Regions from separate parts of the Homo sapiens genome. Here region 2 is linked to region 1. The links are contacts of gene promoters, found by promoter capture Hi-C in blood cells and fetal thymus (Javierre and others, 2016). All regions are on one chromosome and are shown on one strand. The core of a region is centred on a gene start or on the middle of the fragment in contact, and the rest is flanking DNA. Distances in the headings are between cores, read along the strand shown.

Region 1 (4,981 bases), core at 1,138-3,637:
CCACCGTACCCAATTTCTTTTAACTGGCTATGTTTAGGCCAATATCTGAGTCAAGGTTGTTAAAAGAGAAGACTTATGCTTTCATTTTATTTCAATATTTTATCATCTGAATATTTATTACATGCAAATATCTAACATATATTTACCCTCCAAATAGTTGGTGATGAAAGATCCAGCATAAACTTCTATTCACTTATGGTGGGAGCTAAATATTGAGTACACATGGACACAAAGACGGGAACAACAGATACTGGGGATCCCAAAGGGAAGGGGTGGAAATAAGACTGAAACACTACCTACTGGGTACCACGCTCACTACCTGGGTGACAGGATCAATCACACCCCAAACCTTAACATCAGGCAATACCCCCATGTAACAAACCTGTACTTCTACCTTCTGAATCTAAAATAAAAGTTGAAATTATATATACAAAAAAGAATAAATATCATTGCCAAAATAGTTTAATATTTTTCTTGAGCATTTAAAAAAGTCACATGTAATTAGCCAGTCCTCTTATAATCAATTTTCACAACAAGGCTGTGGGGTGAAAATTATTGTTACTTTAGAGAGAGTAACAGAATAATGTGAGAAACAGATCTGGAAATTCTACCAACAAATTCTACCAAGCAGCACTTCTCCAAACTTTTCTGACCCTCTTATTATCCTGACAAAAGAACCGGTGAACCACTTATCCCAGCTGTTTTCCTCCCACTCATCCTATAAAAAGTAAACACACTCCACAGCTGAATGAAAAGCATTATTACTTTGTAATAAAGCCCCAAATGAGTTGATAGCTGTCATTGTTCTAAGTCTTTAAGTTATTAATACAACGACAACTATATAACTCCAGTTACCGGGAGGGAATTCAGTACCTGATCCTCTTCTGATTCACAAAAGATGTGCTGTACTCCAGAGTGGTGCTGAAGAACACACACCAGGAATCAAGATTCCCAGGGGTTTCTAAGCAGATTCGGCCAGACTCCCCCTCGTTACTTCCAAAATGCTACCTCAATAATCAGAAAGCACGATAAAGGATCCAGAAGGGAAGGGACATTGTGGGGAGGAGGATGAGTGTTTAGTGTAGAAAGGAGGATAAGATAGCCAGGGGCTGATCAACGAGAGATCAGCATACAGTAGGATTAGTCAGGGATGCTGGGAGATGGATCTTGAATAACGGTGAAATTTTATTACTGGATTTCAGTAAAGGGTTAAAAGTACAAAAGTTAAACTTTAAAGACTTTAAACAGAATGCTTTTAACGAGAGACAACATACTTTCAAAAAAACTACCTTCTGGTATGATACCTTGAATCTACAGATTTTAAAGTTGCCTAAGGCAAAAAACTAAGTAATTTTTAAAAACCGTCGTATGTTTTCAGGTTTAAAAAAAAAAAAGTCGCATATTTTCATAAGGTCTGAGAAGCTCGCCAAAACCAAACCTAACTGAATTCTCCTTATGTAAACGAAGACTAAGCCACAAGATTCAATGACCCTAAGCAAACACGCTGCAGAAGACCGTTTAAAAATAGAATACACAAAACTACCACAGGAAACAATTCCGGAAGAGGACTGGGTTATCTTCTGGAAACCCAGCTTTCGTGCTTAAAGACAAACTATTCTTCCCCAAACCAAATCTCCCGATCCCTAAACATTAAGTTCTCACATGTCAGTTGCCTATCTGGTGTCTCCACCCCACCCCAATGATAAAAGCTGTAAAATTCTCTTTAAAAACGTCAGGCTGGGACCGGTGTCCGAGGCACGAGGGGTAGGCAGAGGAAGGCGGCGTGGAGGGAAGGAGCCTGGGGGGTCCGGCCTGGCAGCGCCGAAGCGAGAAGGAAGGGGAGTCCCTGGGGCCAAAGGGGGACCCAGGCTTCCCCAGGCAGCCGCGCCGGGCACGCTGCTTTTGTTGAGCTGGGGGGACCACGGCCCAACCTGGGGTCCGGGCCCTCGCCCGCCCAGCGACCCTGGCACTGTGCGCCGTTGAGTCCCCTTGGCGGGCGCCCGTCCCTCCCGCGCCTGGCTCTGACCTCTGCCCACCCCGGTGCTGCCCACCCCGGCCCGGACTCGGCCGCAGAGCGGGGCTTTGGCCTGCCGGGCTCCGAGACTGTGTCCCCACCCGCGTCCCCGGCCGCCCGCGCCCCCGCGCCCGGGCCCTCGGGGGCCGCCTCACCTGCATGCCCGGAGCCCCCGGGTCGACCCCCGTGTCCAGGACTGCGATGAGCACCCCCCGCCCATCATACTCCGGGTAGCGGCAGAGGAAGGAGGCGGCTCCGGTCTCCTTCTTCGGCAGGAGACCGTGAAAAGGGAAGGGCTCCTCAGTCGCAGCGGTGGCCATGGACGCAGGATGGAGGACGAGGAAGCGGCAAACTGCCAGGCTGCGCGCGGACTAGCAGCGCGAGGACACCCGTGCGGCCTCGGGCCGGAGGCGGGGGCGAGGGGCGGGGTCGGCCCGTCTTCCACCAATCCCGGCCTGCCAGGGAGCGGTGGCCAATCACGTGCTGCTACGTAAGCCAACGGCGCCGCTCTCAGGAGCTAGGCCCGAGTATTGCCCGGGCTGCAGTGAAGGGGGAGGAGTCTGAGGACATTACTGGAGGGTTCGGATCTCGAACCTGGGGCCTTGAAGAGGCCCGCGCTTGGGGTTTTTAGGCAACAGCAGGCCTCCAAGCAGAGTCCTGGTGTCCCGGACCGAATCACTCCCCGAGAGACGGGCAAGGAGATGGACCGCCAGCCAGGAATAATGGGAACCCTTCGCTTGGCAAACGATAGTTTCCAAACTTAAGGTTGTGGATGAAACTTTTTGGTGCGGCTGCTGCAGGAGCCCCAGCCCCGGGGTGCTGCTGACCCGAGGCAAGGGAGCCGGCGCACTCACGCTTAGCCGCTAAGGAGTCTGCGGTGTCGGCGAAAGCTCCGGACATGATTTTGGAAGGTCGTAGGTTAAGGGGTGTAGACTTTGGGTTCCCCTGTGTTGTTATGCCCCTTTGATGGGGGTGAGGTGGTGAGGGGGAGCAATAGGGTGGAGACAGGCAATAGTTTCAGTCAACAGGAAGTGGGTTGTTGGTCATTCCGTCGCCTTTGTAGCCAGTAACAAAGCACGAGACTGAAATGGGCCCCTCCTATCCTCTGCTGATCCTTAGCTTCCGGGATTTCTGAAAAACATCTTTTTTTTTCCTCTTACACTGAAGTTTCTGATTGCTCCTTACGGCTGTCCACTCAATTATAGAGCCATAATTTTCAGTTTTCCAGATTCACAGTGCCTGCCGTCAGTTGCTGCAAGCTGCATAGTGGTCCTCTAATGATCTTTATGTCTATGCTCATGCCAGGGTAATCTTAGCCTTTTATTGTGCCGAAGACCCCTTTGGCAATCTGGTGAGGCCTATTTCTCAAGCAGTGTTTTAAAATGCATACAATGAAATAGATAGGATTACCCAGGAAATAAATTATGTTTAAATGCAGTTATCAAAAATACTAAAGGCAATTTTGTTATATAGCAGGAGCTTTACGTGTGTGTGTATAGTTACAGGTGTACTTCTTTTGCATTAAATAACAGGAGCTAGGGCCAAGGCTAATAAACTACCATAACTTCAAAATAGTGAAGAATATAATTATTTGGAGATAGCGGTGAAAACTGCACTACGATGAACTGATTTTTATTGGTGACATAACAGCATAACTACCCTGGTTTTTGCCTACATTCATACTTGATGTGAAAAAAATTAAGAGGTTTGTATCTTTTTTCTACGGAAGTTTTTGAACCCCTTGGATTCTGTCTATGGACACCAAGTTAAGAATACCTGGTATAAAGGAAAGCCTTATGCATGCGGTTTCCAACCCACAGAATTTCAGAGATCCTCCATTAAGTCTCAAAAATTATTCTTATGGCTGTGCAATGGTTTCAGCTGATTCCTTGATCATTTATTCAGTCCATAAGTCTTACACAAGCATGTTCTCTTTAGTGCAGAGGAAAAAGAAAAGTTGAATGTTTTTCTTCTTATTCCCAACTGTTTACATTACCTCTAGAAAAGAATTTCAAATTAACACAGACGAAAACAGAATAACAAACTCGCAGAAGACATTCAGTATAGAGCTTATAGTGATAGAACAGAATGGCTCCCAGTTTCAAGTGAACCATAGTCCAATCACTTCATTTTATAGATGAAGAAACAAAGTTAACTGACTGTCATGGATTACAAAACAGGTTGATGAAAACACGGGATTTGTCTTCTCACAATCTCTCCCCAGTATGTTCTACCACACCATGTGCATGACTTTGCCAGAGTATCACCCAATGAATAAATGGGGAATGAACAGTTTATTATGAAACCTAGGTGGCAGACTTTTTATTAGACTGCCGTAACAATGTTCTTTAGATTTTTCTTTTCCTTTCCTTTTCTTTTTCTTTTTTGACACAGAGTCTCACTCTGTGGCCCAGGCTGGAGTGCAATGTCACAATCTCGGGTAACTGTAACCTCCGCCTCCCGGGTTCAAGCAGTTCTCCTGCCTCAGCCTCCCGAGTAGCTGGGATTACAGGTGCATGCCACCACACCTGGCTAGTTTTTGTATTTTTAGTAGAGACGGGGTTTCGCCATGTTGGCCAGGCTGGTCTTGAACTCCTGACCTTAGGGGATCCACCCACCTCGGCCTCCCAAGGTGCTCAGATTACAGGCATCAGCCACTGCACCCGGCCAGATTTTTCTTTTTTTGCTTACATATCCCATAAACATGTTTTTAAAAAAGTTATGTATCCCTTTGTACAGCTGTAAAATGAAGTCTAAATTTGTCACAATTTTTTTTTTTTTTTTTGAGATGGAGTTTTGCTCTTCTTGCCCAGGCTGGAGTGCAATGGCGGGATCTCGGCTCACTGCAACCTCCACCTCCCGGGGTTCAAGTGATTCTCCTGCCTCAGCCTCCCAAGTAGCTGGGATTACAGGCATGTGCCACCACACCCAGCTAATGTTTGTATTTTTTTAAATAGATACGGGGTT
Region 2 (4,981 bases), core at 1,301-3,800, 3.0 Mb after region 1:
GCGCCACTGAACTCCAGCCTGGTGACAGAGCAAGACTCTGTCTCAAAAAAAAAAAAAAAAAAAAAAAAAACAAAGACAGGTCAATTGACATTGTCCAGCCTGAGGAACAGAAAGAAAATGGAACAGTCTCAAAGACCTGTGGGGTTCCATCAACTACACCAACATATACGCAATGGGAGCCTCCGAAAGAGAAGAGAGAGATAAGAGAGTAGACTTTTTTGAGAGAACAATAGCCAAAAACTTCCCAAATTTGATGTATACACATCCAAGAAACTCAATAAACTTCCAAGAGGATAAACTCAAACAGATCTACACACATCATAATAAAACCACCGAAAGACCAAGACAAAGAGAAAATCAAGCAAAAAAAAAAAAAAAAAAAAAAAAAAAAAGACTCATCACTTACATAGAACCCTAATAACATTAACGTCTGAATTCTCATTAGAATAATGGAGGCAAAAAGACAGTGCGATAATACGCTTTAAAATGCTCAAAGGAAAAAAAATGCCAATCAAGAATCCTATATTCAGCGGGTAGACATGTCGAGAACAGACCAGTGTGCTAAGGCGGGTGAGGAGCACTGAGTTAACCCCCAGCGTACTGGCGTGGGGACTGTGTGCGCTCACTGGACCCGCTACTGAACAGGTCACAGACGCTGGCCCCCTCAAAAGGCGCCAGAAAAGGACCCTTCTGGACCAGCCTGGATACACTGCCTGAGCTGCTCCTCTAGGGCGAGGGGTGACTCCCCTGTGCCAGGGGCAGCGGAGGAAATGGGAAAGTGGGATGCATAAGACTAGGTGGGTCCTCCCATAGGACATGGGTGACTGAAGAGTCACAGTGCAAGAAGACGTAAGAAGTTCAGACCCAGGCCGGGCACGGTGGCTCACGCCTTTAATCCCAACACTTTGGGAGGCCGAGGCAGGTGGATCACCCGAGGTCAGGAGCTCCAGACCAGCCTGGCCAACATGGTGAAACCTCGTCTCTATTAAAAATACAAAAATTAGCCGGGCATGGTGGCGGACGCCCTGTAATCCCAACTACTCCGGAGGCTGCGGCAGGAGAATCACTTGAATCCGGGAGGCGGAGGTTGCAGTCAGCTGAGATGGCGCCATTGCACTCCAGCCTGGGCGACAAAAGCGAAACTCCATCTCGGAAAAAAAAAAAAAAAAAAAAAAAAAGAAGTTCCAGACCACCAGGCCGGCCATGGTGGCTCACGCCTGTAATCCCAGCACTTTGGGAGGCTGATCCGGGTGGACCCCCTTGAGGTCAGGAGTTCGAGAACAGCCTGGCCAACATGGCGAAACTCTGTCTCTACTAAAAATACAAAAATTAGCCAGGGGTGGTGGTGCACACCTGTAATGCCAGCCACTCAGGAGGCTGAGGCATGAGAATCGCTTGAACCCAGGAGGTGGAGGTTGCAGTAAGCCGAGATTACACCACTGTACTACAGCCTAGGTGACAGACCGAGACTCTGTCTCAAAAAATAAAAATAAATAAATAAAGAAGTTCCAGACCAGGAGCCATACACTTAGTGTTTGAACCAAACTCTCTCATTACTGGTCATAGGGCTTTGAGAATCCTTAACCTTTCTGACCCTGTTTTTTCATCTTTATAAACATGACACCCAACTTCTTCACATGGTGGTCAAGGGAACCAAATGAGACCATGTATGTGCACGTACCTAGGCGATGGGCAAGTGCTAGACCAGCGGTTCTCAAAGTGTGGTCCAAAGACACCTGAGGGGGTCCCTGAGACCCGTTGAGAGGGTCTGCTTGGTCCTCCCTTTCCCAACTAATATCTGCATCTGCATGAGCCCAGAATTTCTTTCAAATATTTCCTTCAAAACAGCTGATATGAGACTCCAGCTGTCCTTTATTAAACCAAAGAAATTTTCAAAAATATAAAAACCATGAGCCAATCTTCTCACTTTTTTTTTGAGAAGTTATGCATTAAAGTGTTATTTGTATTAAAAGTTAATGGGTTTGTTATTAAGTGAATATTTTTTAAATTTCTGGTTTAATTCCTCATGCACAAAAATCAATAGATATAAGCAAAAGCTTTGGGGGGTCCTCAAATTATTTTTAGACGTGTAAACGGGTCCTGAGACCAAACCGTTTGGGAACCGCTGTGTTAAACGAACCGCAGGTGTTCTTCACCAGGCAAGCCGCCTCTCAAAGACTGGCGCGTTCACGTTTGCCATTTGGGGGAGGCAGGCAGTTTTGTTTCCTGGGGCTGAGTCCAGGTAATTCGACCTAAGGTGTGTACCCATTTTCCGGGTGCAACGAGGGCCCTCCCAAAGGGAGGCGCGGGCGGCAGCGACCTTGGACGAGGTCGAGCCAGCGCGTGGGAGGCGCATGGTGCTTCCGTCCGGCTGGGTTCCCGTGAGGGCTTGGGGAGGCCGCGCCCGGCCCGCGGGGCTGCAACAGGAGCCGACCCGCGGCGAGCCGGGCCGGGAAGGCGGGGAACGGGGACCTGCACTCACAGCCTCAGCAGCGCCGCCGCCGCAGCTCCGCGCGCCGCCCTCCGCAGCAGACGTAGCGCCATCTTCCCGACGCGCGCGCCCCGCCCTTTGCCTTTAGCCACGCCCACCCCACATTCCACGCCCCCACGGCGACACCGACCCCCCCCCCGTCCCAGGCCCCGCCTCGCTCTGTCTTCGCCCCGCCCCGTCCCGCCAGCCACACCCCGCCAGCCACGCCCTCCTTCCTCCCAGCACCCGCTCCGCCCCGCGGCGAGTCCCGAGGTCAACTGCCCTCCCGGCCAGGGCTTAGGACCTTCGTCCCCGCTGTCATGGGGGACAGAGCAGAGGATCTGAATGGTTGGGGCCTCTTTGAGGGGCCTCTCTGGTGACCGAATCCAACTCTCTGAGCTTCTGAGTTTTTGAGGCAACTGTTGACAGACTGCGTTTTCCCAGCCAGAAGAGCCAACATTTCTAGGGATTTCTTCGCAGCTTTTGTTGTTAAAATACCGCCTAATACTTTGTGAGCCCCATCATGTGCATATCTTGGTTAGCAATTAATCTAGAGTGGTCAAAGTGCAGGAAGGCTGCATCCTGGAACACACATGCCTGCAATAGGTCAGAGCAGCTGTTGGCACTCTCTGGGCAGGGAAACTGACAGCAGCTCTTTACTCTGCCCCCTGCAGCCGTTCTGCAGCGGTGAGAACGCCGAGGCGTTAAAACAGGCTGGGCCCTGCCCCTGCCTCTTCTTTCACCTTCCCTGATCCAGCCGGCCTCCACCTGCCGACCTTCACCTACCCGGGCCCATGTTACCCCTTAACCATGTCTTTTCCTTGGCACTCGGCATGTTTCTTTTTCAGCTGTGACTCCGTTCCATTCATGCTCTAGACTTAAACCTGAAACCGTTTCTCAGAACCTTCCAGTGGAAGCTGACTTGTGCTCTTGGATGCAAAAAGTGGCCGTTTAAACAAACAAAAGCCTTTTCAGCCAGAGGGGGTTCCAAGATTTGGAAAAGTCCAGGTGACTGGGAACATGGATGCTAAACTTCTGCTGAGCCTAAGAATTATTGTTATATTCGATACCAACAGGGGAGACTGCTCAACCCCTTGGTGCCCTCCCCCAGCTCCCACGCCTGCTCCACCTCAGGCCTCGCCTGTCTACTCCAATTTGGTCACTTTCTTGTCACCACCTTAGTCCCAGCCAGTGCCCGGTCCAGCCATACTGAAGCCTGAGGCAAAGGCAATTTCAGTAACACCAATCCTGTCTTTAATTAAAATTTTGATATTTTGTTCATAATGGGATTTTTCCATTATCTTGGTTTTTAGTTTAGAATATTACTTTTTTTTTTTTTTTGAGACAGTCTTGCTCTGTCGCCCAGGCTGTAGTGCAGTGGCACGATCTCAGCTCACACACTGTAACCTCCACCTCCTAGGCTTGAGTGATTCTCACCCCTCAGCCTCCTGAGTAGCTGGGACTACAGGCAAGTGCCACCACTTCCAACTAATTGTTTTGTATTTTTAGTAGAGATAGGGTTTCACCATGTTGGCTAGGCTGGTCTCGAACTCGTGGCCTCAAGTGATCCATCCGCGTCAGCCTCCCAAAGTGCTGGGCTTACAGGCATGAGCCACCATGCCAGGCCAATATTACTTATCTTTTTTTTTTTTTTTTTTTCTGAGATGGAGTCTCGCTCTGTCGCCCAGGCTGGAGTGCAGTAATTACTGAGACTTCTCCTTAAATTTTGCATCCCAGGCTGGGGCTGCACTCACCTCACTCAAGTCTGATTCTGGACATCATCATCCTTTACCTGGATTATTTCAAAGCCTCCTTGCTCCCATTCTTCCCTCCTACAATCACCCGTTTGCCATAAAACCTGGCTGACCTTTTAAAAGCATGACGCAGCTCCTAGTTCCAGAGTTGACTTGCTGTGTGACTTTGGTCAAGTTTCTTAAGCTCTCTGTTTCCTCATCTATAAAATGGGGGTATAAATACCTCATCACCTCATAGGCTTGTTATAATGATAGACTGAGTTTACATATACATAGAGAGAGACTGCACACTTAAAATCTAAGCAAGTTCTCAGTAGTGTTAACTATTCCTCATTATTATTGTCATTGCATCGCTTCCCTTCTTAAAACCCTTTAGTGGCTTTAGAATAAAATCCGAGTTCTTCCCCATGACCCTTAAAGCCTCACACGGTCTGGCCCCTGCCAGCCTCTCCAATTTATCTCCAGCCCCACTCATCTTCTGTCTGTGTTTTCTAAGTCCACGAGGCTCTCTCCCACCGTGGGGCCTTCACACATGCCGTTCCTCATCCCCAGAATGCTCATGGCTACACCTGCTCATCCTCCAGGACCTTCAGCCTACGTGCCACCTCCTCACAGGGGCCTGTGCTAATAACCTAAAGATCCCCAACGGCGCCCCCACATCTATTTCACTGTCACAGTGCCTGGTCATCTCCACCACAATGTCGATATATGAGTTTGTGAATTTATTAGGTTCATGCCAAAGTAATTGCGGTTTTTG

What was found. Contacts are between HindIII fragments. The CHiCAGO score rates a contact against its expected background, and 5 or more counts as called.
Region 2: the fragment with the promoter of CLYBL here is called in contact with the fragment with the promoter of TPP2 in region 1 in 2 of 17 cell types (M0 macrophages and fetal thymus); the score reaches 8.6 in M0 macrophages.

Annotation. Positions count from the first base shown.
Region 1 is chr13:102,594,392-102,599,372 of GRCh38, reverse strand. It overlaps TPP2 (tripeptidyl peptidase 2), which reads right to left and starts at 2,387. Exons shown (of 30, transcript NM_001330588.2): 1 at 2,170-2,387. The coding sequence starts at 2,334. It overlaps LOC107984588 (a long non-coding RNA gene), which reads left to right and starts at 2,431. Exons shown (of 2, transcript XR_001749984.3): 1 at 2,431-2,925; 2 at 4,972-4,981. RefSeq lists silencers at 1,874-2,163, 2,324-2,613 and enhancers at 2,684-2,743, 2,794-2,953. The HindIII fragment of the contact is 7,622 bases long and covers 1-4,981 here.
Region 2 is chr13:99,604,259-99,609,239 of GRCh38, reverse strand. CLYBL (citramalyl-CoA lyase) reads right to left here and starts at 2,550. Exons shown (of 9, transcript NM_206808.5): 1 at 2,483-2,550. The coding sequence starts at 2,544. LOC105370332 (a long non-coding RNA gene) reads left to right here and starts at 3,391. Exons shown (of 3, transcript XR_931674.3): 1 at 3,391-3,478. RefSeq lists a silencer at 2,210-2,769 and enhancers at 2,491-2,785, 2,708-3,687. The HindIII fragment of the contact is 13,725 bases long and covers 2,060-4,981 here.